Linked DNA regions of Homo sapiens: all the other regions are linked to region 7. The links are contacts of gene promoters, found by promoter capture Hi-C in blood cells and fetal thymus (Javierre and others, 2016). All regions are on one chromosome and are shown on one strand. The core of a region is centred on a gene start or on the middle of the fragment in contact, and the rest is flanking DNA. Distances in the headings are between cores, read along the strand shown.

Region 1 (3,487 bases), core at 256-2,755, 1.9 Mb before region 7:
ACTCTGTTTTCTGTTGTTTAAGACGTTTATCAAGACAATACATGCACTGCTGAACATAGACCCTTATCAGTGGTTCTGCTTTTGCCCTTTGCCCTGTGATCTTTGTTGGACCCTTATCAGTGGTTCTGCTTTTGCCCTTTGTCCTGTTCCCTCAGAAGCATGTGATCTTTGTTAGGCCCTTATTAGTGGTTCTGCTTTTTGCTCCTTGAAGCATGTGATCTTTGTACCTACTCTCTGTTCTTATACCCCCTCCCTTTTTGAAAACCTTAATAAAAAACTTGCTGGTCTGAGACTCAGGGACATCACGGTCCTACTGATATGTGATGTCACCCCTGGTGGCCCAGCTGTAAAATTCCTCTCTTTATACTGTCTCTCTTTATTTCTCAGCCAGCCAACACTTATGGAAAATAGAAAGAACCTACGTTGAAATACCGGGGGCGGGTTCCCCCAATACTTTTGGTGTTTAACTCATGAAGTCTTTGCCCTTGCCTATGTCCTGAATGGTATTGCCTAGGTTTTCTTCTAGGATTTTTATGGTGTTAGGTCTTAAATTTAAGGCTTTAATCCATCTTGAGTTAATTTTTGTATATGGTGTAAGGAAGGGATCCAGTTTCAGCTTTCTACGTATGGATAGCCAGTTTTCCCAGCACCATTTATTAAATAGGGAATCCTTTCCCCAGTGCTTGTTTTTGTCAGGTTTGTCAAAGATCAGGTGGTTGTAGATGTGTGGTGTTATTTCTGAGGCCTCTGTTCTGTTCTACTTGTCTATATATCTGTTGTGTACCAGTACCACACTGTTTTGGTTACTGTAGCCTTGTAGTATAGTTCAAAGTCAGGTAGCTTGATGCCTCCAGCTTTGTTCTTTTTGCTTAGGATTGTCTTGGCTATGTGGGCTCTTTTTTGGTTCCATATGAACTTTAAATTAGTTTTTTCCAATTCCGTGAAGAAGACATTTATGCAGCCAACAGACATATGAAAAAATGCTCATCATCACTGGTCATCAGAGAAATGCAAATCAAAACCACAATGAGATAGCATCTCATTCCAGTTAGAATGGCGATCATTAAAAAGTCAGGAAACAACAGATGCTTGAGAGGAAGTGAAGAAATAGGAACGCTTTTACACTGTTGGTGGGAGTGTAAATTAGTTCAACCATTGTGGAAGACAGTGTGGCAATTCCTCAAGGACCTAGAACTAGAAATACCATTTGACTCCGCTATCCCATTACTGGGTATATACCCAAAGGATTATAAATCATTCTACTATAAAGACACATGCACATGTATGTTTATTGTGGCACTATCCACAATAGCAAAGACCTGGAACCAACTCAAATGTCCATCAGTGATAGACTGGATAAACAAAATGTGGCACATATACACCATGGAATACTATGCAGCCATAAAAAAGGATGAGTTTATGTCCTTTGCAAGGACATGGATGAAGTTGGAAACCATCATTCTCAGCAAACTATCACAGGGATAGAAAATCAAACACTGCATGTTCTCACTCATAGGTGGGAGTTGAACAACAAGAACACATGGACACAGGGTGGGCAACATCATACACCAGGGCCTTTTGCGGGGGGCTGGGGGAGGGATAGCATTAGGAGAAATACCTAATGTAAATGACAAGTTGATGGGTGCAGCAAACTAACATGGCACATGTATACCTATGTAACAAACCTGCATGTTGTGCACATGTACCCTAGAACTTAAAGTATAATAAAATAATAAAGAAAATTAACTGTGTACTTTCTGTTATTGTTTTGCATTACACTGTGAGCTCATTGGAAATAGCAGCTACCATTTATTGCATTCTTAAACTGGCCCTGGTATGGTGTCAAAAGACAGAAAGATTGGTCTCTATTGCCTAGTAGCCCTCATGCTAATCTTCCCATTAATCCTCATAACAATTCTACTTGGCTTTCTGTCATGTTATTTCCATTTTATGTATGAGGATACTGAAATTAGAAATATATTAAATGACTTTCCCTGGGTTACAAAGCCAATATGTGGCAGAGTCAGGAAGCAAACACAGATCGTTTAATCCCAGAGTAAACACATTAAACTGTTATAATTGTCTTAACTACTTCTCTACTCCAGTGGTTCTCAGTGATGATTTTGTGTCCCCCACTTATGGGGGACATTTAGTAATTTCTGTAGATAGTTTTGTTTGTCTCAACTTGTGGGGGAGTGTTGCTATTTAGTGTGTTGAGGCCAGGGATTCTGCTAAAAATCCTATAATGCATAGGACAGTGATCACTCCCACCCTGCCCCCAAGAAAGAATTATCTGATTCAAAATGTCAATAGTGCTGAGGCTGAAAAACCTTGTTCTATTCCCAGGGCTTACCTCAATGCCTTCCACTTAGTAGGCTCAATCTACATGTTTGTTGAATTAAATAGAACTAGCGAACATGAATTCATATGCATATATTTATATAAATTTAAATATTATGGTAATGAAGATCCTTACAAGTATACATACTTTAATCCTGACGGATTCTCCTGATCATAGAAACTCCACTGTGTGTGTCATCTTCATTTCCTGTGAAATCTGTAGCTTTGTGATGATGCTTCTCATTTATTCTATTCCGAGTCTTATCTCCTGTAATTATGCTGTCTCCTGGTTTGGCCATGGTCCCATGGATAGGAATTTCATGTTAAATCCTCCAGTTGCTGTACTGACTTAGAAAAGATTTGGGGTTTGCGTGTTTTTCTTTCTTGTTCCTCCCCTATCCTGTTGGAATTCATTGCATCATCCCTGTACTTTCCTAGCATGATTACATGGTATGGGCTAGCTGGGAGTTGGGGGAGGCGGGGGTCAATGTCTACTTTGGAGGATGGCCTGCCTGCTCTGGCCCACCAAAGAAACCCCCTAAATAATCAGATCTATATCAAAGCTCACTGAATGAAGTGATTGTGGCTGGAAGCCTCGGTTCCCATCCAGAAGATGACATATTCCTGAACTTAGTGATGTGGGCTTGAAAAGTTCTATTTCCTGTTGCAAACTAAATGGACTTTGCAAATCCAACCTGATTACATTACCCTATATCAGATTTCCAGATGACAGCTGTTGCTCAATCTTCTCCTACCCCCACCCCTGTTATGCTCTGGGATTTTTTAAATTAAAAATTTTAAAAAATGACAGCCACTTAAGAGTTTTGCTCATTTCCACAATTCCTAAATTTCTCATTTTTAGTTCATTCTGTCAAAATTGCCTTTGTTGCAGCTGCAATTAGGGAGAAAGATACTTAACTTGAGCTGCAATTAGGGAGAAAGATACCTAACTTGCATGGCCTGCTTTAGCAATAGAGTGATTTTTGGGAAAGAGCTGGGGAGTAGGGGAGTCATCTGGATCTGCAACATGATGAGAGATTGATTAGCTTCTCCAGTGAACCCTAAAGTTTGGTTGTAGGGGTAAACTGTGTTTGATCTAGCCAGGTTCTCCAAGGATGCACAAGGACAAGCTAGTGAGCATGGAAAT
Region 2 (3,534 bases), core at 676-3,175, 1.9 Mb before region 7:
ACTTTGGGAGCCTGGACAGGAGGATTGCTTGAACCTAGGAGTTTGAGACCAGCTGGGCAACATAGGGTGACCCTGTCTCTACCAAAAAAAAAAAAAAAAAAAAAAAAAAAAAAATTAGCCAGGCATGGTGGCACACTTGCTTGTAGTCCCAGCTACTCAGGGGCTGAGGTGGGAGGATTGCTTGAGCCCAGGTGGTTGAGACTGCAGTGGGCCAAGATCACACCATCGCACTTCTGCCTGGGCAACAGAATAGACTCTTTCTGAAAAATCAAAAGAATAAATAAAATAAATGGAAAGTAAATGGATGAAAAAAGATATGTCATGTACACAGTGATGACAAGAGAGCTGGTGTGTTCATCAGACAAAATAGACCTTAAAACAAAAAACTTTACTGGAGATATAGAGGGATATTTTATGATAATCAAAAGTTCAATTCATCAGAAAGATGTAACCATTATAAACATATATGTATCTAACAAGAAAGCAGCAAAATACATGAAGTATAATCTGACAGAAATGAAAGAAGAAATAGATAATTAAAAACAATAGTTGGGGACTTCCATATCACACTTTTGGTAATGGATGGAACAAGTAGCAGAAGATCAACAAAGAAAGTGAAGAATTTAACAACATGATAAACCCGCTAGACTGCACAGAATCCTGTAGAGCACTCCACCTAACAACAGCAGAATATATCTTCTTTTCAAGTGAAGGATGCATCCTATGGCAGGCTATAAAACAAACCTCAATAAATTTGAAAGTATAGAAATAATAAAACCTGTCTTCCTTAACTGTAATGAAATGAAATTAGAAATCAATAAAAGATTTTCTTATATTTGAGAAACTCACAAATTTATAGAAACCAAACAACAGAGTAGCTAGTTCTTTAAACACATTAACAGAATTAATAAATATTTAGCTAAATTGACCAAAAAATTAGTGAAAATTCAAATTACTAGAATTAGAAATAAAAGAGAAACCACCGTCAGAGTGAACAGGCAACCTACAGAATGGGAGAAAATTTTTGCAACCTACTCATCTGACAAAGGGCTAATATCCAGAATCTACAATGTACTCAAACAAATTTACAAGAAAAAAACAAACAACCCCATCAAAAAGTGGGCAAAGGATATGAACAGACACTTCTCAAAAGAAGACATTTATGCAGCCAAAAAACACATGAAAAAATGCTCACCATCACTGGCCATCAGAGAAATGCAAATCAAAACCACAATGAGATACCATCTCACACCAGTTAGAATGGCAATCATTAAAAAGTCAGGAAACAACAGGTGCTGGAGAGGATGTGGAGAAATAGGAACACTTTTACACTGTTGGTGGGACTGTAAACTAGTTCAACCATTGTGGAAGTTGGTGTGGCGATTCCTCAGGGATCTAGAACTAGAAATACCATTTGACCCAGCCATTCCATTGCTGGGTATATACCCAAAGGACTATAAATCATGCTGCTATAAAGACACATGCACATCTATGTTTATTGCGGCACTACTCACAATAGCAAAGACTTGGAACCAAGCCAAATGTCCAACAATGATAGGCTGGATTAAGAAAATGTGGCACATATACACCATGGAATACTATGCAGCCATAAAAAATGATGAGTTCATGTCCTTTGTAGGGACATGGATGAAGCTGGAAACCATCATTCTCAGCAAACTATCGCAAGGACAAAAAACCAAACACCGCATGTTCTCACTTATAGGTGGGAATTGAACAATGAGAACACATGAACACAGGGAGGGGAACATCACACACTGCAGACTGTTGTGGGGTTGGGGGAGAGGGGAGGGATAGCATTAGAAGATATACCTAATGCTAAATGATGAGTTAATGGGTGCAGCACACCAATATGGCACATGTATACATAGGTAACAAACCTGCACGTTGTGCACATGTAACCTAAAACTTAAAGTATATAAAAAAAAGAAATAAAAGAGAAGATATTACTTTTGACCTTCTAGAAATAAAAAAGTATTGTATTCCAATAAATTATACAATTTGCATGAAATTGACAAATTCCTAGAAAGTCACAACCTACTGAAACTGACCCAAGAAGATATAGATAAAACAAAGAAAACCCCAAACAACTCAATTAAAAAATAAGCAAAGGACTTGAATAGACATTTCTTTAAAAAAAGATCTACAAATAGCCAATAAGCACATGATAAGATGTTTAATATTGTTATTTGATATGGTTTAGCTGTGTCCCCACCCAAATCTCATCTTGAATTGTAGTTTCCATAATCCCCACATATCGTGGGAGGGACCTGATGGAGGTAATTGAATCATGGGGCAGTTACCTCCATGCTGATGTTCTCATGATAGTGAGTGAGTTATCATGAGATTTGGTGGTTTTATAAGGGGCTTTTCCCCCTTGCTTGGCTCTTGTGTCTCCTGCTGCCTTGTGTAGAGGGATGTGTTTGCTTCCCCCTCTGCTATGATTGTAAGTTTCCTGAGGCCTCCCCAACCATGCAGAACTGTGAGTCAAGTAAACTTCTTTCCTTTTTAAATTACCCAGTCTTGGACAGTTATTTATAGCAGTGTGAGAATGGGCTAATACAGTAAGTTGGTACCAGGAGTAGAGGGGCACTCCTGTAAAGATACCTGAAAATGTGGAAGCGACTTTGGAACTGGGTAACAGGCAGAGGTTGGAACAGTTTGGAGGGCTCAGAAGAAGACAGGAAAATGTGGAAAAGTTTGGAACTTCCTAGAGACTTGTTGAATGGCTTTGACCAAAATGCTGATAGTGATATGGACAATGAAGTCCAGGCTGAGATGGTCTCAGTTCCCAACAAGTTCCTCATCTCATCTCACCTCATCTTAGCCCAGGCTCAGATGGAGATGAGAAACTTGTTGGGGACTGGAATAAAGGTGACACTTGTGATGCTTTAGAAAAGAGACTGGTGGCATTTTGACCTTGCCCTAGAGATCTGTGGAACTTTGAACTTGAGATAGATGATTTAGGATATCTGGAGGAAGAAATTTCTAAGTGGGAAAGCATTCAAGAGGAAGCAGAGCTTAAAAGTTTGGAAAATTTGCCACCTGATAATGTGATAGAAAAGAAAACCAGATTTTCTGGGGAGAAATTCAAGCCAGCTGAGGAAATTTGCATAGGTAATGGGGAGCCAAATGTTCATCACCAAGACAATGGGGAAAATGTCTCCAGGGCATGTCAGAGACCTTCACAGCAGCCCCTCCCATTACAGGCCACAGAGGGAAAAGTGGTTTACTGGGCCATGCCCAGGGCCACCCTGCTCTGTGCAGCCTTGGGGCATGGTGTCCTGCATCCCAGCTGTTTCACCTCCAGCTGTGGCTAAAAGGAGCCGAGGTACATACAGTTTGGGCCATTACTTCAGAGAGTGCAAGCCCCAAGCCTTGGTGGCTTCCATGTGGTGTTGAGCCTGTGGGTGCACAGAAGTAAAGAATTGAGGTTTGGGAACTTCCTCCTAGATTTCAGAAGATGTATGGAAATGCCTGGATGTCCAGGCAGAAGTCTGCTGCAGTGGTGGAGCC
Region 3 (3,297 bases), core at 537-3,036, 2.0 Mb before region 7:
ACCTCTGCTGCCTATCAGCTATGTGATCTTGGGCAAGTTACTTAACCTCTCTATGCTTTGACTTCCTTATCCATACTTTGGGAATAATAATACTCCATACCTCACAGGGTTATTGTGAGGGTTAAATGAGATTATCTATATAAAGTTCTTAGAACTTTGCTTAGCACAGTAAGTACTCAATAAGTTCTATCCATTCCAGAAACCTCCACCCTAGCTAAATTCATCTCTGTTAACAGCCGCACATGTGCTTTTGACTTTCCTGCCTCTGTGATTTCAGCTGCTCCTTTCACCTGCCTGCAATGATCCCTCTCTTTCCTTTTGGCTTTATCCAAGCTCTCCTTGTCCTCTATTGCTAAGGAAACTCAAGCAATTTCTCAGGACCTCTATGGCTAAGGAAACTCAGGTAATTGTTCAGGAGAACGAGACAGAACTCACCCTGGTTCCTACAGCTGAGTTACTGTGGGAGGTCACCTGGCTTCTCCACATTTCAGCCTTCCCCTTGGTGAAGTGCAGATACTTAACACAGACCTTGTGAAGTCATTGAAAGAAAAATTCTCAAATTCTGGCAGATAGTAGGTATTTAATGAATGATAGATATTATTAAGCCAAGCTAGTCCTTCCTACCTGAACTTTTCCCTCTGAACTCTTCTAGTAATTATTGATTCCATCATTTATCTGGTCATTCATTGACCATGTAGTACTTTGTATCACCTCATCTTTTCTTTCTTTTTGTCCTGCTTGGAATGATTACTGTAATCTTATGACTGCTTAGTTTTTTAAACATGCATAGTATCCTCCTCACTGCATTGGGGTTTCCTGGCGGGAAGACCCTGCACAGACATTTGTAACGTGACCAGAGTTTTAATGTGCAATCCCTCCATGCTAGCAGCTTGGTGAGGTGCTTACATTTTGTAGGACTTCATAGGCTTTTTGCTGTGGTATGTCGGCCTGGTACAGCCCAGGGCTTTGAGGCTGCAGCTCTCTCTTAAGTGTTTATTTTTTGCACCTTTGCCTTTGGGCGATGGACTCCCCCACCTAAAGCTTTGGACTTTTCCTGGCTGCCTCATTGACCAGTTGTGAGGCTGACACCAGCCTGTGAGTCCAGAGCTGGGTCAGAGCAGATAAGGGCTTGTTCTCAGAACCAGCATGGTGATCACTGTGTGTCTTCTCCTTATTTTCTTCTCTGTGAAAACATGTGCCTCGTAATTTGTGTTCTGAGAAATATCTCAACGGTCCTGTGCCCTAAACATTTCCTCATCTGAGATAAGGCCTGGATGTTGGCTCTAAGGAGGGAAAAAGGTACAGTGGAGAGGAAGTTCTGATCAGCAGGAAGATTTCCCAAGCAACGACACCGCCTCTGGCAGCAATGGCCTAGAAACTGGGCTGCCTTGGTGCAGACCGAGACCAAGGCCATTCCCAAAGGAGAGGCTGACAGCATTGCCCAGGCATCCTCTTCCCTGCCAGGCATGGACCTTCTGAGGGATGTGGGGGCTACTGCACCTAGAGAGAGGCACTGGAGCCTGAGAAATCAGTGCTTTGAGGCCTCAGTGGTGGGGCTGGTGGCTGAGGCTGCTACTGGTGGAGTTGACGGGCCCTGGATAAGACCCAGAGTTCAAGATTCTGGTCTTGGCCATCAGTTCCTCACTGTGTGATCCTGGGCATGTCACTTAATCTCTTTGGAACCCAGTTTCTTGCCTAGAAAATAAGTATGTCTTATCAGTGGTTTTAAATTTTTAATTATTTAAAAAATCATCAGAATGCTTTAGAACTTTTTTTTCCAAAAAGAATTGTATGCATATTCCCAGTTGATACAACAGATAAAAAGAACAGTCCTGTATGGAGGAGTTTGGGCCACCAGGGGCCTGTGCCCAGGTCCTTCCTGTCATTCCATGCTGCCATGCCTGTTCTGTTCCCCGGGACATGTTCATGCAAACCTGGCTTCCCCAACACATTTTAAGCCCTCTGGACTAGCTTTGTCCCCAGCTTTGTGTTCTGGGCCTACCAGTCAGCTTGGCTGATTTTCCCCAGGTCAGTGGTGATGGGAGAGCAGTGCTGGTGTGCGGAGAGAGGGCAAATATTTCACCAAAGGACCAAGTCCCAGACAAATCAGAGAGGATGCTGGTCAGTGTGCATTGGTTGAATATCAGTACCAGTTTTGTGTCAGAATGAGCTGTGAAATTTTTAACAAATACACCCTTCAGGGTCTATCCAGCTTCACTTGAATCAAAATTTGGGGCTATTATTTTGAAAAATAGGAAATAGGTATGTGCAGCCCCTCCTCCTAACAAATAGGCAACCCCAAATCAAAATACTAAAACCTTGATTCTGGAGCTTTGGATGGGTGGGTGGTCTCCAGGAGGTATCGTCAGAATAAAAGGGGTCTTAAGTTAACTTGGAGCATGGCAAGGGCAAGAATAACACCAATAATATGATGAAGTACTTACTCTGGAATAGGTTCCATGCTTAACATACCATGAAATAGGTGGATACTAGTTTCCTAGGGCTGTTTTAACAAATGACCACAAAGCTTCATGGCTTAAAAAATCCCCCAGAAATTTTTTTGCTTAGAGTCCTGGAGGCCAGAGTACAAACTCAAGGTGCTGGCAGGGCCACACTCACTCTGATGGCTCTAGAGGGGACTTTGTCTTAGCCTCTTTCAGCTTAGGGAGGTTCCAGGCATTCTGTGGCTTGTGGCTGGATAACTCCTACCTCTACCTTCATCTTTCTTTGCGTGGACTTTTCTTCTTCTCCTGGTGTCTGTCTTTCTGCGGTCATAAGGACATTTGTCACTGGATTTAGAGACAACCTAGATAATATAGGATGATCTCATCTCAAGAACCTTTACATAATTACATCTGCCAAGACCTTTTTATCAAATATGGTCACGTTCAGAGGTCCTAAGGATTAAGATGTGGACACAGGTATTGAGTGAGGGACAGCATTTAACCCCAACTTGTTATTAACACCAACTTAAAGATGAGAAAGCCCAGGTCTAGTCCATGGAGGTAACCTGCCCATGGCCACACCGCTGGTGAGTGGCAGAGCTGGGCTGGGACTCACCCTCAGGTCTGCTTTATGCTTGTCTTCTACAGAGCCTGTCACACAGACGTCCAGGGAGTATGTGGACCAGGCAGATGCAGGACAATCATTGGTGCCAGCTTGCAAGACTCTGCCTTGCCTACAGAGGGTGCTCAATGCCTGTCTGTTAGAGAGGTAGTTCTTGATTCTGAGACCTTGACCAGGACTTCTAGGGCATAGTGAATTAATCTACCTGCCTCTATATCTTTAGGATAGTGC
Region 4 (3,491 bases), core at 788-3,287, 1.9 Mb before region 7:
CTACACCATCCTTTTCTGGTTCTCCTAACTTTGGCTACAGCTTTACAAACACTTCCTCCATGAAACTCTCTTCCATTTGTCTTTTGAGTGTGCCATCCAATAGACTGGTTTACACAGACATCATATAACTTCTCAGTATTACATCTCAGTTTAAATTCATCGAACTGTTTAGAGAACCTCTTTTGTAGCTGAACTTTCAACCAGTTTTGGGCTTCTGTGCTGATCTTACAGTTCTCCCTAACTCTTAAGGGATTGGAAATTTGTAGACCCTGTGCTCAGTGCTTAACCAAACCTAGCTTTCTTTCCCTTCTTTTTATTTTAAATTGACTTTATTGAGGGAAAGTTTTAAAGCAAGAAAATGCTTCTATTTTAAAAGGTACAGTTCAATGAGTTTTGAAAAATATATATGCCCATAAAACCATTTTGACAACTGAGATATAGAACATTTCCATACTGTAAAATATTTCCTTATTCCCCTTCCTACTCAATTCCAGCCCTAGGCAATGGCTGATCTGTTTTCTGTCACCTTAGATTAGATCTATCTTTGTTGGCAATTCATATTAATAAAATCATACAGTACAAATTCTTTCATGTTTGGCTTCTCTTGCTTAGAATACTGTTTTGGAGATTATTCCATTTTGTTGCAATAGTTTATTCCTTGTTATTGCTATGTGTTGATTCATTCATGTATTGATGGACATTTGGGTTCTTTTCAGTTTTTGCCTATTATAAATAGAGGTGATATTAACTCCAAGGCAGAAGTCTTTGTGTGGACATGTTTTCATTTTTCTTAGGTAAATATCTAAGAATAAAACTGCTAGATTATATGATGAAACTGCCAGATTATATGATAAGTGTATGTTTAGCTTTACAAGAAAGTGCCAAGCAGTTCTCCAAACTGTTTGTATCATTTTACATTCTCACCAACAATGTGCAAGAATATCAGTTACTTCCTTGCCAGCACTCATATTGTCAGCCTTGTTAATTTTAGATAAATTTTTTTTTTAAAGAGATGGATTCTTGCTCTGTCACCCAGGCTGGAGTATAGTGAAGTAATCATATCTCACTGCAGCCTTGAACTCCTACTACAGCCTCCCAAGAAGCTGGGACTACAGGCATGCACCACCATGCCTAGCCCAATTTTAGACGTTCTAATGGATGTTGTATTAGTCCATTTTCATGCTGCTGATAAATACATACCCAAGACTGGGTAATTTATAAAGTAAAAGGGGTTTAATGGACTCATAGTTCCATGTGGCTGGGAAGGCCTCATAATCTTGGTGGAAGGCAAAAGGCACATCTTACGTGGCAGCAGGCAAGAAAGAATGAGAGCCAAGTGAAAAGGGAAATCCCTTATAAAACCGTCAGATCTCATGAGACTTATTCACTACCACGAGAACAGTAGGGAGGAACTGTCCCCATGATTCAATTATCTCCCAACTGGTCCCTCCCACAACATGTGGGAATTATGGGAGCTACAATTCAAGATGAGATTTGGGTGGGGACACAGAGCCAAACCATGTCATTCTGCCCCAGCCCCTCCTAAATCTCATGTCTTCACATTTCAAAACCAATCATGCCTTTCCATCAGTCCCCCAAAGTCCTAACTCATTTCAGCATTAACTCAGAAGTCCACGGTCCAAAGTCTCATCTGAGACAAGACAAGTCCCTTCCACCTATAAGCCTGTAAAATGAAGAGCAAGTTAGTTACTTCCCAAGTACAATGGAGGGTACAGGCATTGGATAAATACATCCATTCCAAATGGGAGAAATGGGCCAAAATGAAAGGGCTAAAGCCTTCGTGCAAGTCTGAAATCCAGTGGGGCAGTCAAATCTTAAAGTTCCAAAATGATCTCCTTTGACTCCATGTCTCATATCCAGGGCACACTGATGCAAGAGGTAGGTGTTTACATCCTTGGGCAGCTCCATGCTCCATGCCTGTGGCTTTGCAAGATACAGCCTGCCTCCCAGCTTCCTTCACGGGCTGGTGTTGAGTGTCTGCAGCACATGCTGCAGTGGATCTACCATTCTGGGGTCTGGAGGATTGTGGCCCTCTTCTCAGAGCTCCACTGGGCACTCTGTGTGGGGGCTTCAACCCCACATTTCCCTTCCACATTGCCCTAGCAGAGGTTCTCCATGAGGGCTCTGACCCTGGGGCAAACTTCTGCTTGGACATCCAGGCAATTCCATACATCCTCTGAAATCTAGGCGGAGGTTCCCAAACCCCAGTTCTTGACTTCTGTGCACCTGCAGGCTCAACACCACATGGAAACTGCCAAGGCTTGGGCCTTGCACCATCTGAAGCCATGGCCTGAGTTGTATCATGGCTCCTTTTAGCCATGGCTAGAGTGGCTGGGATGCAGGGCATCAAGTCCCTGGGCTGCACACAGCAGGGGGACCCTGGGCCTGACCCATGAAACCATTTTTTCCTCCTAGGCCTCCAGCCCTGTAATGGGAGGGATTTCCACATAGGTCTCTGACATGCTGTTGAGATATTTTCCCCATTGTCTTGGTGATTAACATTTGGCTCCTTGTTACGTATGCAAATTTCTGCAGCTGGCTTGAATTTCTCCTCAGAAAATAGCTTTTTCTTTTCTATCACATCATCGGGCTGCAAATTTTCCAAACCTTTCTGCTGTGTTTCCCTTCTAAAACTGGTTGCCTTTAACAGCACCCAAGTCACCTCTTGAATGCTTTGCTGCTTAGAAATTTCTTCTGCCAGATACTCTAAATCATCTCCCTCAAGTTCAAAGTTTCACAAATCTCTAGGGCAGGGATAAAAGTCCACTAGTCTCTCTGCTAAAACATAGCAAGAGTCACCTTTATTCCAGTTCCCAACAAGTTCCTCATCTCCATGTGAGACCACCTCAGCCTGGATTTAATTGTCCATATCATTATCAGCATTTTGGTCAAAACCATACAAGTCTCTAGGAAGTTCCAAACTTTCCCACATCTTCCTGTCTTCTGAGCCCTTGAGACTGTTCCAACCCCTCTGCCTGTTACCCAGTTCCAAAGTCGCTTCCACATTTTTAGGTATCTTTACAACAGTGCCCCACTACCTGGTACCAATTTACTGTATTAGTCTGTTCTCATGCTGCTGATAAAGACATACCCGAAACTGGGCAATTTATAAAGAAAAAGAGGTTTAATGGACTCACAGTTCCATGTGGCTGGGAAGGCCTCACAGTTATGGTGGAAAGCAAAAGGCACGTCTTACATGGCAGCAGACAAGAGAGAGAATGAGAGCCAAGTGAAAGGGGAAATCCCTTATAAAACCATCAGATCTCATGAGACTTACTCACTCTCATGAGAACAGTATGGGGGGGCCACCCCCATGATTGAATGATCTCCCATCAGGTCCTTCCTTCAACATGTGGGAATTATGGGAGCTACAATTCAAGATAAGATTTGGGTGGGGACACAGCCAAACCATATCAGATGTGTAGTAGTATCTTATTGTGATCATAATTTGCTTTTCCATGATAACTAAT
Region 5 (3,706 bases), core at 1,102-3,601, 1.9 Mb before region 7:
ATCTCAACAGGAAAGCTAATAAAGCCTGTATTGACTTATAATGACTGTAGATAGTCCCTCTGCCAGTTTTCCATTCCTCCCCAGCCCCTTCATCACTGAGGATGACCCAGAATTGCAGAATCTTGCCTATACTTTTCGGGGTGCAGGAGAATTTAAAGCCATTCTTTGCAGCCACTGAATTTTAAATACGGAGATGAGGCTTTCTGTGGGGAGTCTTCCTGACGTTGGGTAAGTAATTTACTATTGAGGCACCTGTTTCAAATCACCTGTTAGAGGGTGTGATGATATCTGCTCTACTTAGCTATTGAGGTTGTTGAAGAGATGAAATGAGATCATAAAGGTGAAATCTTAAGTGCAGGCTTAAGGGGCGACTATGGGATAGCATTTAAGATGTGTGCTCCAGAAGCAGAAGGGTTCATCTCAAACTCTCTTGAGGTGAAACTGTGTGAAGTTAGGGCAATTTGAGCTCTGGGCAGAAGGGAGCACTCTTGCACTGTCTCTAGATTGTCTTCACCAGTTGGGAGGAGGGGATGCATTTTTGTCTCTATTGTCCAGTATAGTCCTTGGGTCACTGTGGGGATGGTGAGTTACCTTTTATCCATTAGCTGGGACTGGCCATTTCATGATTCCTCAAAATGCAAAGCATCCTGGCCCAGCTGACTTTGCCAGTGTTTTTTTCCAGGGCGGATAGGAGCTGAACACCGTGGCTCAAGTGGCAAATGAAGAGTCCAGCACAACAAACAGCCATCATATGGTGCAAATAGCAGGAGAGACCCCATTGCCACCTGATTTCTGCATGATCTATTTGTGGTGGCATGAGGCACTACAGGAGAGGTACCCTGCTGCCTTCCAGCAGTAATGGAAGAGATTATGTGGACTATGTGTTCTAGGAAATAAACTTTTAAGACTCCAGCTGGCTCGGCAATAATATAGGTGGTTCTAACGACACTGCTTAGTTATGGGAAACCATCACTGAAGAAATGGGCCCATTTAGTATCATCTCCCATCTTGTCATGAATATCAGAAGCCTGGAAGACAGGGATAAAAAAATGGGTGAAACATGTTTGGCATCTGGAGTTTCTGGAAAGTGCAGCCAAACCTCTTCGCTATGCTTTGTGTTGGTTCTGGGCTGATTAAAGTTATCCACATTGTACCTCTTTCTTGCTACTGCTTTTAACTTTTTATTTTGACAAAATTTCAGACTTTTTAAAACATTGGCAGAATAGTACAAGGAGTTTCCCTCGTGTTAATAATTTACCAACTTTACTTAATTTAATATATATGTACCATCTATTATATATGCCATATATTTTTATATGATACCATATATTTTCATATAATGCCATATTTTTTCCTGAATTATTTGAAATGTATAGACATAATGTTCTTTATCCCTAAAGACTTCGATGTGTACTTTCTGAAAATGCATTTTGTTACATAAGCACTATTGTTAATCATCAAAACTGGGAAATTAACATTAATACAAAACTATTACCTAATCTACAGACCTCAGTTGAATTTCACCAATTGTTCCAGTTTTATGCTATATGGTAAAAGAAAACACTGGATCACACATTGACTTTATTAGTGTCTCATCTTTTTAAATCTGGAACAGTTTTCTGTCTTTTATGACAATGACATTTTAGAAAAGTACTGGTGAGATTTTTGCAGAATGTTTCTTAATCTGAGATTCTCCAGTATCTCCTCATGGTTAGATTCAGGTCATACATTTTCAGCTGGAATATCATAGAAGTGATGTTATGTCCTTTTTCATTCATTATTATCAGGCTGCACATGATGTCAATTTCCCTCATTATTAGTGATGTTGACTTTATTTGGTGAAGATGGTGTCTGCCAGTTACAGTAAATGCTGCCGTAAAGGCGTTTTCCAACCTTTCCCTTTGTAATTAATAAGTATCTTAAGAGGTACTTTATTATGTGAAATTTCTGTTACTCCTCATACTTTAAGCTACTAGTTTTATCATCATTGATGATTCTTATCCTGAATTGATTACTATTTTGAAGTTTGCCAAATTGTTGTTTTCTATTTCCATCATCCTTTCCACGTTCGTTTGTTAGCTTTTTGCTGTAAGGAGATTTCCCTACTTCCACATTTATTTACTTAAAGGACCTCTCCACAATGGTTCAAATCCTTGAGCACACCTAATATGAGATCGCGATCAGGTGCTAACATTGTGCTTTGTCATTTATAAAGAATGTTAACATCCATTTTTCTCATTTGTTCTTCACAGCCAGACTATGTGGAAGTAAGTGGGGTTCTTCTGTTACAAATGAGGAATCTGAGGCCCAAGAAAGTCCCCTCAATCATCACTTATGTTACACTGTATAATCAGGATTTGACTTTGTGAGCTCCCTGAGAGCAGGGCAGGTATGTTAGTTACATTTAGATCTTCTAAACGCCCAACCCAGCAGGCGCTCAATACTGAAACAATGAATGGATGAATAAAAGAGTAGGAAAGCATTCTGATCTTCTAAATCATTTCCTTACCTTCTTGTTCATTCATGGAACTCTTCCCCTGTTATAGCAAAGCCTAATGATGGAAATTCCCCTGGGAAAGGCAGAAAACGATGCAATAAGAGCAAGAGCTTTGCTGCGGAGGGTGAGGAAGGGCAAATAACAGAATAGCCTGGATCTTTGCATGTCTGAGAGGGAGATGGTGGCATTTACCAAGTGGAAAGGGCACAGAGAGTGGCAGGTATGTCCAGGTCCTAAAGAGTGGTTGTTCTGGCTGGGCGTGGTGGTGGGCACCTGTAATCCCAGCTACTTGGGAGGCTGAAGCAGGAGAATCGCTTGAACCTGGGAGGCGGAGGTTGCAGTGAGCCGAGATCGTGCTGCTGCACTCCAGACAGTGAAATTCTGTCTCAAAGAAAAAAAAGAAAAAAAAAAAACGGGAGGCAGGGAGGGAGAGAGAGAGAGAGAGATTATTCTAACAATTCCAGTAAGGGAGAGTGGCAGTCAAACAATCCAGTGCTTAAGTGCCATTAACCAGGCTGGGCGGGAGGTTTTTGCCAGCTTCCAGTGGAACTCATCTGGAACCTGGTGTGGTGGTTTTATGATTTCCATCTGAACTCTTGAGAAGAAACTTAGGGCCCCTAACTCTGTTTGCTTTTTCAAGCCTTTAGCCCCCAGTGCACCTTACTGTGGGACACTGAGTGAACAAGAACAAAAGTTAAATTAAAAATAATTCTAAAACATAACCAAGAGCCTGGCCCCAGAGTATTATGGAGGCTTGGCCACCAGGTTATGTTAGGAGGAGGGACTGGCCTATGCAAATTTAATTCCTGTGAGGTTTTTATTTTTAGGTTCACACATTTCTGGGGGTGACTGATCTTTGACTCAAGATTCCATTATTTCACTTCATTTAGGCCTCAGTTTTCTACTTTTTGTATAAGAGGATATTAGGTCAAGTGAGGGCTTGACAACGTTAGAGCTATAATAAGTGAAATGGGCCAGAAATAAGTAATAGTGAGTGGCAGGAGTTGGGGTGATATGGTGACCACCTGCCCAGTCCATAGGGACAACTACTATTTAGCTCCAGCCATACTGGAATGCAGATGTGGTGTTGATAGATATTCATATTTTAAAAGAGAAGCAAGAAATACAATTCTGTGCATGCGAGATATCCTGATTTATTATAAATATTGGCAGCTACATAAATTTTTTTAATGCTGTGCAGTTTAAACA
Region 6 (3,600 bases), core at 204-2,703, 1.9 Mb before region 7:
AAATGATTATTCTTCTCTCCAGAATGAAGTGCTGTTACATTTTTCTTACATATCCTTCAGAAAGACTTCTGTATATATAAATGTCCATATGTTTTCTTCTTTTCAAAATAAATCATATTATAAATTATCCTCTGTCCCTTATGCTTCATTTAATAAAGTAACAAAGAGCTCTTTATTATCAGCCTGTAAAAATCTGACTCTCTCTTCTAAACAGCTGCATAGCTTTCTGTGATGTATTTCACCAAGCTTCTTTTGTTTTCAGTAATTGTCTATTAAAATTTGCATCAGTGAATATTATTATGTGTATTTATTTGCAAACATATCTGTATAGTATATTTCAGGAAGCAGTATTTCTTGGTTAAATGGTATGTACATTATTATTTTTGAGAGATATTGCCAAATTGTCTTCTGACAGTAAATAGCCTCTACAGCAAATAGCTGTTTCCTCACATGCTCATCAATACTGGGTGCTATCAGACTTTTTAATATTTGCTGATATTATAAGGGAAAACTGGCATCTTAATGTTTTAAAGTGCATTTCTTTAAGTGTGAGTGAGGTTAGGTATTGTTTCATGTGTATTAACCATTCCAGTTTATTCTTCTCTAAAGCACCTGCATCTTTCTTGTCTTATTTTTTGTTAAATTTTATATCTGGTTTTTGTTGATTTGTAATTATATATTTCTGGTAGACAGCCTTGAGGAAGTGCCCAGTAATCTTCACCTCTTAATATTCATCATCCTGTATAATCTCCTCCTCTTGAGTGTAGGATGGACTTATCGACTCACTTGCAATGAATTCAGCACTGCAAAAGTGATGGGATCTCACCTCCAATATTGGGTTATAAAAAGACTGTGGCCTCTGTCTTGGGTGCTCTTTCTCACATGTTGATAGGTTGTCTAGCTCTTACTCTATTGGAATACAGCTGCCATGTAAAGAAGTCCAGGTTGTTCTGAAGGAGAGGCCAAATGCAGCAGAAGGCCCAGGAGGATAAGAGCTGACATGGGGGAAAACTCAGCCAACCTGGCTGACAACAAGCACCAACTGCTTTCCATGTGAGTGAACCTTGGAAGAGGATCTTCCAGACCGAGTTGAGCCGTCAGATGACTGCAGCTCCTGCTTGCAGCTTGACTGCCAGGATTAGACAGATTAGAAAAAGACAGACTGGGCTGGGTGCAGTGGCTCACACCTGTAATCCCAGCACTTTGGGAGGCCGAGGTGGGTGGATCACCTCAGGTCAGGAGTTCAAGACCAGCCAGGCCAACACGGTGAAACCCCATCTCTATTAAAAATACAAAAATCAGCTGGGTATGGTGGTGTGTGCCTGTAATCGCAGCTACTAGGGAGGCTGAGGCAGGAGAATCGCTTGAACCTGGGAGGTGGAAGTTGCAGTGAGCTGAGATCGTGCCACAGCACTGCAGCCTGGACAACAGAGTGAGACTCTGTCTCAAAAAAAAAAAAAATAAAAGAAAAAGAAAGACTGTGTTCTTTTGCTTATATTTGCAAATACAATCTGTTTGATATATAATACAATACTGGGGAATCCAGAAAAGTATAGAAGTATAGGGAAGTGAAACAGATATGCATTCAATTTCTAATTCTGTCTCTTATTGGCTGTGGTCTTAGGCAGGTTAATTAACCACTCTAAACCTCAGATTCTTCATAATATTGTTGCTATATGTGGGTCACATATACCCATATAAAGAACAGATTAAATGCATTTTGCAAGGGCAAAGACTTGCCTACTTAAAATTACCAATACTCCTCAGTACTCCTTAAGTTATCAATATGGGTAAGATTTTGGATGCAGGATGAAATTAAAATCCTAATCAAGGAATGTGGAAGTCCCAGCCAGAGCAATCAGGCAAGAAAAAGAAATAAAAGGCATCCAAATAGGAAAAGAAGAAGTTGAGCTCTCTCTACTGATGATACAATGCAATACCAGAAAAAACCCTACAGACTCTGCCAAGAAGCTCCTGGAACTGATAAACAACTTCAGTAAAGTTTTGGGGTACAAAATTAACGTACAAAAGTCAGTAGCATTTCTATACATCAATTACTTTCAAGCTGAGTGCCAAATCAAGAATGCAATCCCATTTAAAATAGCTGCAAAAATATTAGAAATACATCCAGCCAAGAAAGTGAAAGTTCTCTACAAGAACTACATAACACTGATGAAAGAAATTGTAGATGACAGAAACAAATGGAAAAACATTGTTAGACTCCCTATCATTAAATGGCTATACTGCCCAAAGCAATCTACAGATTCAACACTGTTTCTATCAAACTACCAAATGTCATTTTTCACAGAATTAGAAGAAACTATTGTAACATTCATATGAACCAAAAAAGAGCAAAGCAATCCTAAGCAAAAAGAATAAAGTTGAGGGCATCACATTATCCCACTTCAAACTATGGTAAAGGCAACAGTAACCAAAGCAGCACAGTACTGGTATAAAAACAGATGGATAGACCAATGGAACAGAATAGACAAGCCAGAAATAAATCTGTACACCTACAGCCATCTGACCTTCAGCAAAATTGGCAAAAATAAGCAGTGGGGAAAGGACTCCCCCTTTCACCATATACAAAATTTAACAAAAGACGAATTAAAGATTTAAATGTAAGACCTCGAACTGCAAGAATCCTGAAGGAAAGCTTAGAAAACACCATGCTGGACATCAGCCTTGGGAAAGAATTTATGACTAAGTCCTCAAAAGCCATTGCAACAAAAACAAAAATTGACAAGTGAGGCCTAATTAAACTAAAGAGCTTCTTTATAGCAAAAAAACCCCCAAAGAACAAAAAACAAAAAACTATCAACAGAGTAAACAGGCAACCTACATAATAGGAGAAAATATTCACAAACTTGACATCTGACAAAGGTCTAATATTTGGAACTTAAACAATTGAACAAGTAAAAAGCAACCCCATTGAAAAATGGGCAAAGGACATGAACACATACTTCTCAAAAGAAGACATACAAATGGCCAAGAACACAAAAAAATGCTCAACATCACTAGTCATTGGAGAAATGCAAATTAAAACCATGAGAGACCATCTCACACAAGTCAGAATGGCTATAATTAGAAAGACCAAAAAACAAAAACCAAAAGAAAACAAACAAACCCAGATGCTTGGGAGACTGCAGAGAAAAGGGAACACTTGTACACCACTGGTGGGAATGTAAATTGATTTAGCCACTGTGAAAAGCAGTTTGGAGATGTCTCAAATAACTTAAAACAGAAGTACCATTTGACCCAGAAGTCCCATTACTGGATATATAGCCAAAAGAAAATAAGTTGTTATACCAAATAGACACATGCATTCATATATTCATTGCAGCACTATTCACAATAGCAAAGACATGGAATAAACCTAGGTGCTCATCAATGGTAGATTGGATAAAGAAGACGTGATACATATATATCATGGAATACTATGCAGCCATAGTCCTTTGCAGCAACATGGATGTAGTTGAAGGCCATAATCCTAAGCAAATTAATGCAGAAACAAAAAACCAACTACCGTATGTCCTCTCTTACAAGTAGGAACTAAGCATTGTGTACTCATGGTTATAAAGATGGCAACCACAGACACTG
Region 7 (3,631 bases), core at 581-3,080:
GCTGCTCCTCCGTAGCAGTACTGTTTGACAAACCGCATCCTTGTCCTGTGAGTATAAATCATCGCAGGCGGAACAGCTGCCCTCCACACCGAGAACGCACTGCGCGCCCACCGCCACGCCACGCGCGTACCAGGCTGCAGGGCGCCTCGCTAAGGCTGGGGAAAGGGCCGCGCTTTGATCAAGAGTCCCAGGGAGAGTGGAGGAAAGAAGGGTATTAATGGGCGCGCGTTCAGAGCGTGGGATGTTAGTGTAGATAGGGAGGAATGATAGAGGCATAAGGAGGAAAACGATGCCTAGAATGATTAAAATAACCCAGCAACGCATTGCCACGTATACTTGGAGAGCGCGTTATGAATAAACTCCCATTGCATTTGTTGGGGGGAGTCATGTATTATGCATTATGTATGCACAGCTATCTGGATTGGATACCTTCCACCCAGACTGAGTCCCCCAATTTGCTGCCAAAGCAGCAGATACCGCCCCTCCTGCCCCGCCTGCTCAGGCTTCCGTGGGGCCCCGTGCGGGAGGCGTCTGTTTAGCCCTGAGATGTGTCTGCCTGTTCCAGAGCTGGGCTAGGGCGAGAGGGAGGTTGCCTGCTCTCTGCCAGTCTGTACCCCACCGTCCCACCCCCACGCCTCCCACACGGAGTTCCCAATTTCTCAGCCAGGTTTCAGAAGAGACAAATCCCCTTTGCGCCCTGTGGCGCCGGTTTGCAACAGTCTCGGGCTGCCGGGTTTGGGAGAAATCAAAGGTGCTAGACGGGAGAATATGGGAGGGGCAGGGGGTACCCGAACCGCGGGACCGGACTTCCTAAAAGGGGCAAGTGGAGAGCTTGTGGACCGAGCCGGGGGAGTCAGCAGAGACCCTTGTGAAAAAAACCGTTAACTCTTTCCTCCCCGGACAAACCGGACGTTTAATTCCTTTCCAGGTCCTCTTTCCCCTTTTATTATTGGAAATGCGGTCATGCACAAAAAATGCATCGATTCTGATCAAAGAAGAGGAGAGGAGTATTACTTCCGTGCCTTTTTTTGGGGGGGGGGGAGTCTTGAGCTAATTAAAATTTGGCTGCCTTCCAGGCATTAATTTCCTAGTTCACTGACTCACAATTTTTTCTGAATACTAGTGAAAGTGCACTGTATGTAACCCGCAAACGTGTATTCACATTTTATTTACGCTTCGACTTAGCTAGTTGCCCAGCCCCACACATGATTTGTTTGCTCCCTGAAATGATCTATATTTAATATATAATGTATATTCCCTCGGGATTTTTTATTTTGTGTTATTCCACGGCATGAAAAACAAAAAACATTCTTCTCATCCTTGGTCCCTCACCCAAAGGCATTTTAAGTAAACTTTTCTCTCCCTCCACCACCTCCAAAAGAGAAAACAATTCGGGGGAAAGGGGTGCGTGTATAGCATGTACGCTGTTCAAGATGGGTTATTACCCGTTGAGTTTGCAGCTCAGCGTTCAAGTGTTAAGTGAATATAGTAGCTTCCAAATCCGATGCACTGCACAATTCAGCTTTAAGGATTGCAAATTACTCCTGCCTCCAGGCCTTTGCCGCAAACGCGGGGAGCAACCAATCGCTATGCTGGATTTTGCTGCAAAGCGTCTTTCCCTCCGCCCCCTCTCTGGGCAGCACCCGCGTTCAGGTTTGCGAAAGTAAAGTAAGTGTGCCCTCTACTGGCAGCAGAGATCATCGCGCCTGGATGTCAACGAGGGCGGGGGTCAGGTGGGGGCAGGAGCAGGAGCGTCCGAGGTGCAAGGTTTCCAGCGGGGGAAGGACAGGCGGTTCCTTAAAACAAGTTTCCAGCCACCTCCTTGTTATTCTTTCAGGTTGGCTGCAGAAGGTCCGAAGAAAGAGGAGTTACTGGAGGAAAAAGTGGTTCAGAGGTGACTATTCAACCGCATAAGAGATGGTGAAAATTAACCTATCACCACTGCTAATGAACATCACCCTATGGAGAACCGGTAATGGCAAACGTGAAATAATTCACAAGTACATAGACGAAAAAAAAATTCCAACAAACCCTAAAACGGCCAAACAAGCTTTAGCCCCCACGTCTTAGAAACTCATCATCTTTTTTAACCACAAAATTTGAAAGCAAGACACTGGATTTATTGGGGAAAGGGGAGGCACAGCAGAAGGTGATGGGTATTTGGTTTGGCCTATTATTATTAATTATTATTCTTATTATTTTTGAGACAGGGTCTCCTTCTGTCACCCAGGCTGGAGTGCAGTGGCACAATCAAAGCTCACTGCAGCCTCGATCCCCCCGGGCTCAAAGCAAACCTCCTACCTCAGCCTGATACCCCAGCCCAGTAGCTGGGAGTGCAGTGCACCACCACACCCGGTTAATTTTTTAAACTTTTTGTAGAGAGGCAGTCTGGTCATGTTGCCCAGGCTGGTCTCAAACTCCTCGGTTAAAGCGATCCTTCGGCCTTTGCCTCTGAAACTGCTGGGAATACAAGTGCGAGTCATCGCTCCTGGCCTTGGCTTATTATTTTTACTTTTAAAATATTGGGCTGGTGAATAATAAGTGATTTTTTTTAATAGCAAGAAGGGGTATTTGAGATCTCATAGAAAAAAAGTGTGAAGGAATAGGAGCATTTTATTAAAGGTTTTAATACTAAAATGAGTATGCAATAAGGTTGAAGTAAATGTGAAGGAAATTTACCTGGCACGTGTCCCTGGTCAAGTAGGTTTTTACGGGGCAAAGAATCCCTGACGGTGTCTGATCACTTAGATGCCCTAAGGACTTCTGGCAGTGGAGGTTCCTTCCCGCAGGAGCCTTGTAGGCTGATTTCCCAGGAATCTGGCACTTTTGGCATTACTCTAATTGAAGCTAAATGAGTGCTCTCCACAGGGGCATGCACTCCCCGCCCCTCAAAGAAAACCCTCAACAACAAACAAACAACAATGGCAAAACCAAAAGTAGGTCCAGCTTGACCTCATAGGGTAGTTTTTGAAAGTTGCTAAAGATGGCGGATATACCACATCTTCGGATCTGACTCTCAAATTATGCCAGTCCAGTGTAGGGCATGTGAACCCCAGGCAGATATAATGCCTGTGGGTTCAGAACTTAACCTCACTCTCCCTCAGGCTGGTGACATCACCTGAGGTGTTACTTTCAAGTAACAGCTTGGAGTTGTTTTGTGCCATCTCCATTTTTACATGAGAGAAAACAAAGCCAGACCTCAGCCAGGTTAAAGGACATAACTGATTTTCTTTTAGTAATTTTTGAGACATATTTGACCTAGAATAGACATTTGCTGGGTTGAAAAATGGCTGAGATTACAACTAGTATCATGTATAACTACCAAAGTGATACGTGTCCATTGGAAAAATCCATTGAGAAATAGAAAAAGAAAGGAAAAGGCCGTGTGTGGTGGCTTATGCTTGTAGTCCCAGCACTTTGGGAGGCTCAAGTGGGAGCATCGTTTGAGGCCAGGAGTTCGACAACAGCCTGGGCAATGTGGTGACGTGCCATCTCTAAAAAAAAAAAAAGAAAAAAAAAAAAAGAAAAGAAGAAGAAGAAAGAAAGAAAAGAAAAGAGAGTTTTTTCTTCTTTAATTTTTTTTTTAAGACAGGGTCTCACCCTGTAGTCTAGGCTGGAAGGCAGTGGAATA

Evidence for each region. Contacts are between HindIII fragments. The CHiCAGO score rates a contact against its expected background, and 5 or more counts as called.
Region 1: a contact is called between a fragment that was not itself captured here and the fragment with the promoter of CASC11 in region 7, in 1 of 17 cell types (neutrophils). The highest score is 8.9, in neutrophils.
Region 2: a contact is called between a fragment that was not itself captured here and the fragment with the promoter of CASC11 in region 7, in 1 of 17 cell types (neutrophils). The highest score is 6.4, in neutrophils.
Region 3: a fragment that was not itself captured here is called in contact with the fragment with the promoter of CASC11 in region 7 in 9 of 17 cell types (erythroblasts, megakaryocytes, neutrophils and 6 more); the score reaches 31.7 in erythroblasts.
Region 4: a contact is called between a fragment that was not itself captured here and the fragment with the promoter of CASC11 in region 7, in 5 of 17 cell types (monocytes, neutrophils, fetal thymus and 2 more). The highest score is 14.1, in monocytes.
Region 5: a contact is called between a fragment that was not itself captured here and the fragment with the promoter of CASC11 in region 7, in 4 of 17 cell types (megakaryocytes, erythroblasts, neutrophils and 1 more). The highest score is 28.6, in megakaryocytes.
Region 6: a fragment that was not itself captured here is called in contact with the fragment with the promoter of CASC11 in region 7 in 3 of 17 cell types (neutrophils, erythroblasts and megakaryocytes); the score reaches 7.2 in neutrophils.

What each region holds. Positions count from the first base shown.
Region 1 is chr8:129,643,891-129,647,377 of GRCh38, reverse strand. All of the region lies in intron 1 of CCDC26 (CCDC26 long non-coding RNA), which reads left to right. Among named protein-coding and RNA genes, the nearest start is that of CCDC26, 35 kb to the left of the region's middle. The HindIII fragment of the contact is 9,204 bases long and covers 1-3,487 here.
Region 2 is chr8:129,603,804-129,607,337 of GRCh38, reverse strand. All of the region lies in intron 1 of CCDC26 (CCDC26 long non-coding RNA), which reads left to right. Among named protein-coding and RNA genes, the nearest start is that of CCDC26, 75 kb to the left of the region's middle. RefSeq lists silencers at 3,404-3,534, 3,429-3,534. The HindIII fragment of the contact is 6,206 bases long and covers 1-3,534 here.
Region 3 is chr8:129,687,471-129,690,767 of GRCh38, reverse strand. No RefSeq gene overlaps it. Among named protein-coding and RNA genes, the nearest start is that of CCDC26, 8.9 kb to the right of the region's middle. RefSeq lists a cis regulatory region at 1,074-1,408 and an enhancer at 196-2,408. The HindIII fragment of the contact is 1,486 bases long and covers 1,044-2,529 here.
Region 4 is chr8:129,668,385-129,671,875 of GRCh38, reverse strand. All of the region lies in intron 1 of CCDC26 (CCDC26 long non-coding RNA), which reads left to right. Among named protein-coding and RNA genes, the nearest start is that of CCDC26, 10 kb to the left of the region's middle. The HindIII fragment of the contact is 6,843 bases long and covers 1-3,491 here.
Region 5 is chr8:129,583,999-129,587,704 of GRCh38, reverse strand. The region is part of intron 1 of CCDC26 (CCDC26 long non-coding RNA); the gene reads left to right. Among named protein-coding and RNA genes, the nearest start is that of CCDC26, 94 kb to the left of the region's middle. RefSeq lists an enhancer at 1-981. The HindIII fragment of the contact is 5,873 bases long and covers 1-3,706 here.
Region 6 is chr8:129,623,426-129,627,025 of GRCh38, reverse strand. All of the region lies in intron 1 of CCDC26 (CCDC26 long non-coding RNA), which reads left to right. Among named protein-coding and RNA genes, the nearest start is that of CCDC26, 55 kb to the left of the region's middle. The HindIII fragment of the contact is 2,410 bases long and covers 249-2,658 here.
Region 7 is chr8:127,732,166-127,735,796 of GRCh38, reverse strand. CASC11 (cancer susceptibility 11) reads left to right here and starts at 1,830. Exons shown (of 4, transcript NR_117102.1): 1 at 1,830-1,972. It also overlaps a transcript of MYC not described here. RefSeq lists a silencer at 1,636-1,755, a cis regulatory region at 338-3,080 and an enhancer at 2,660-3,161. The HindIII fragment of the contact is 10,989 bases long and covers 1-2,052 here.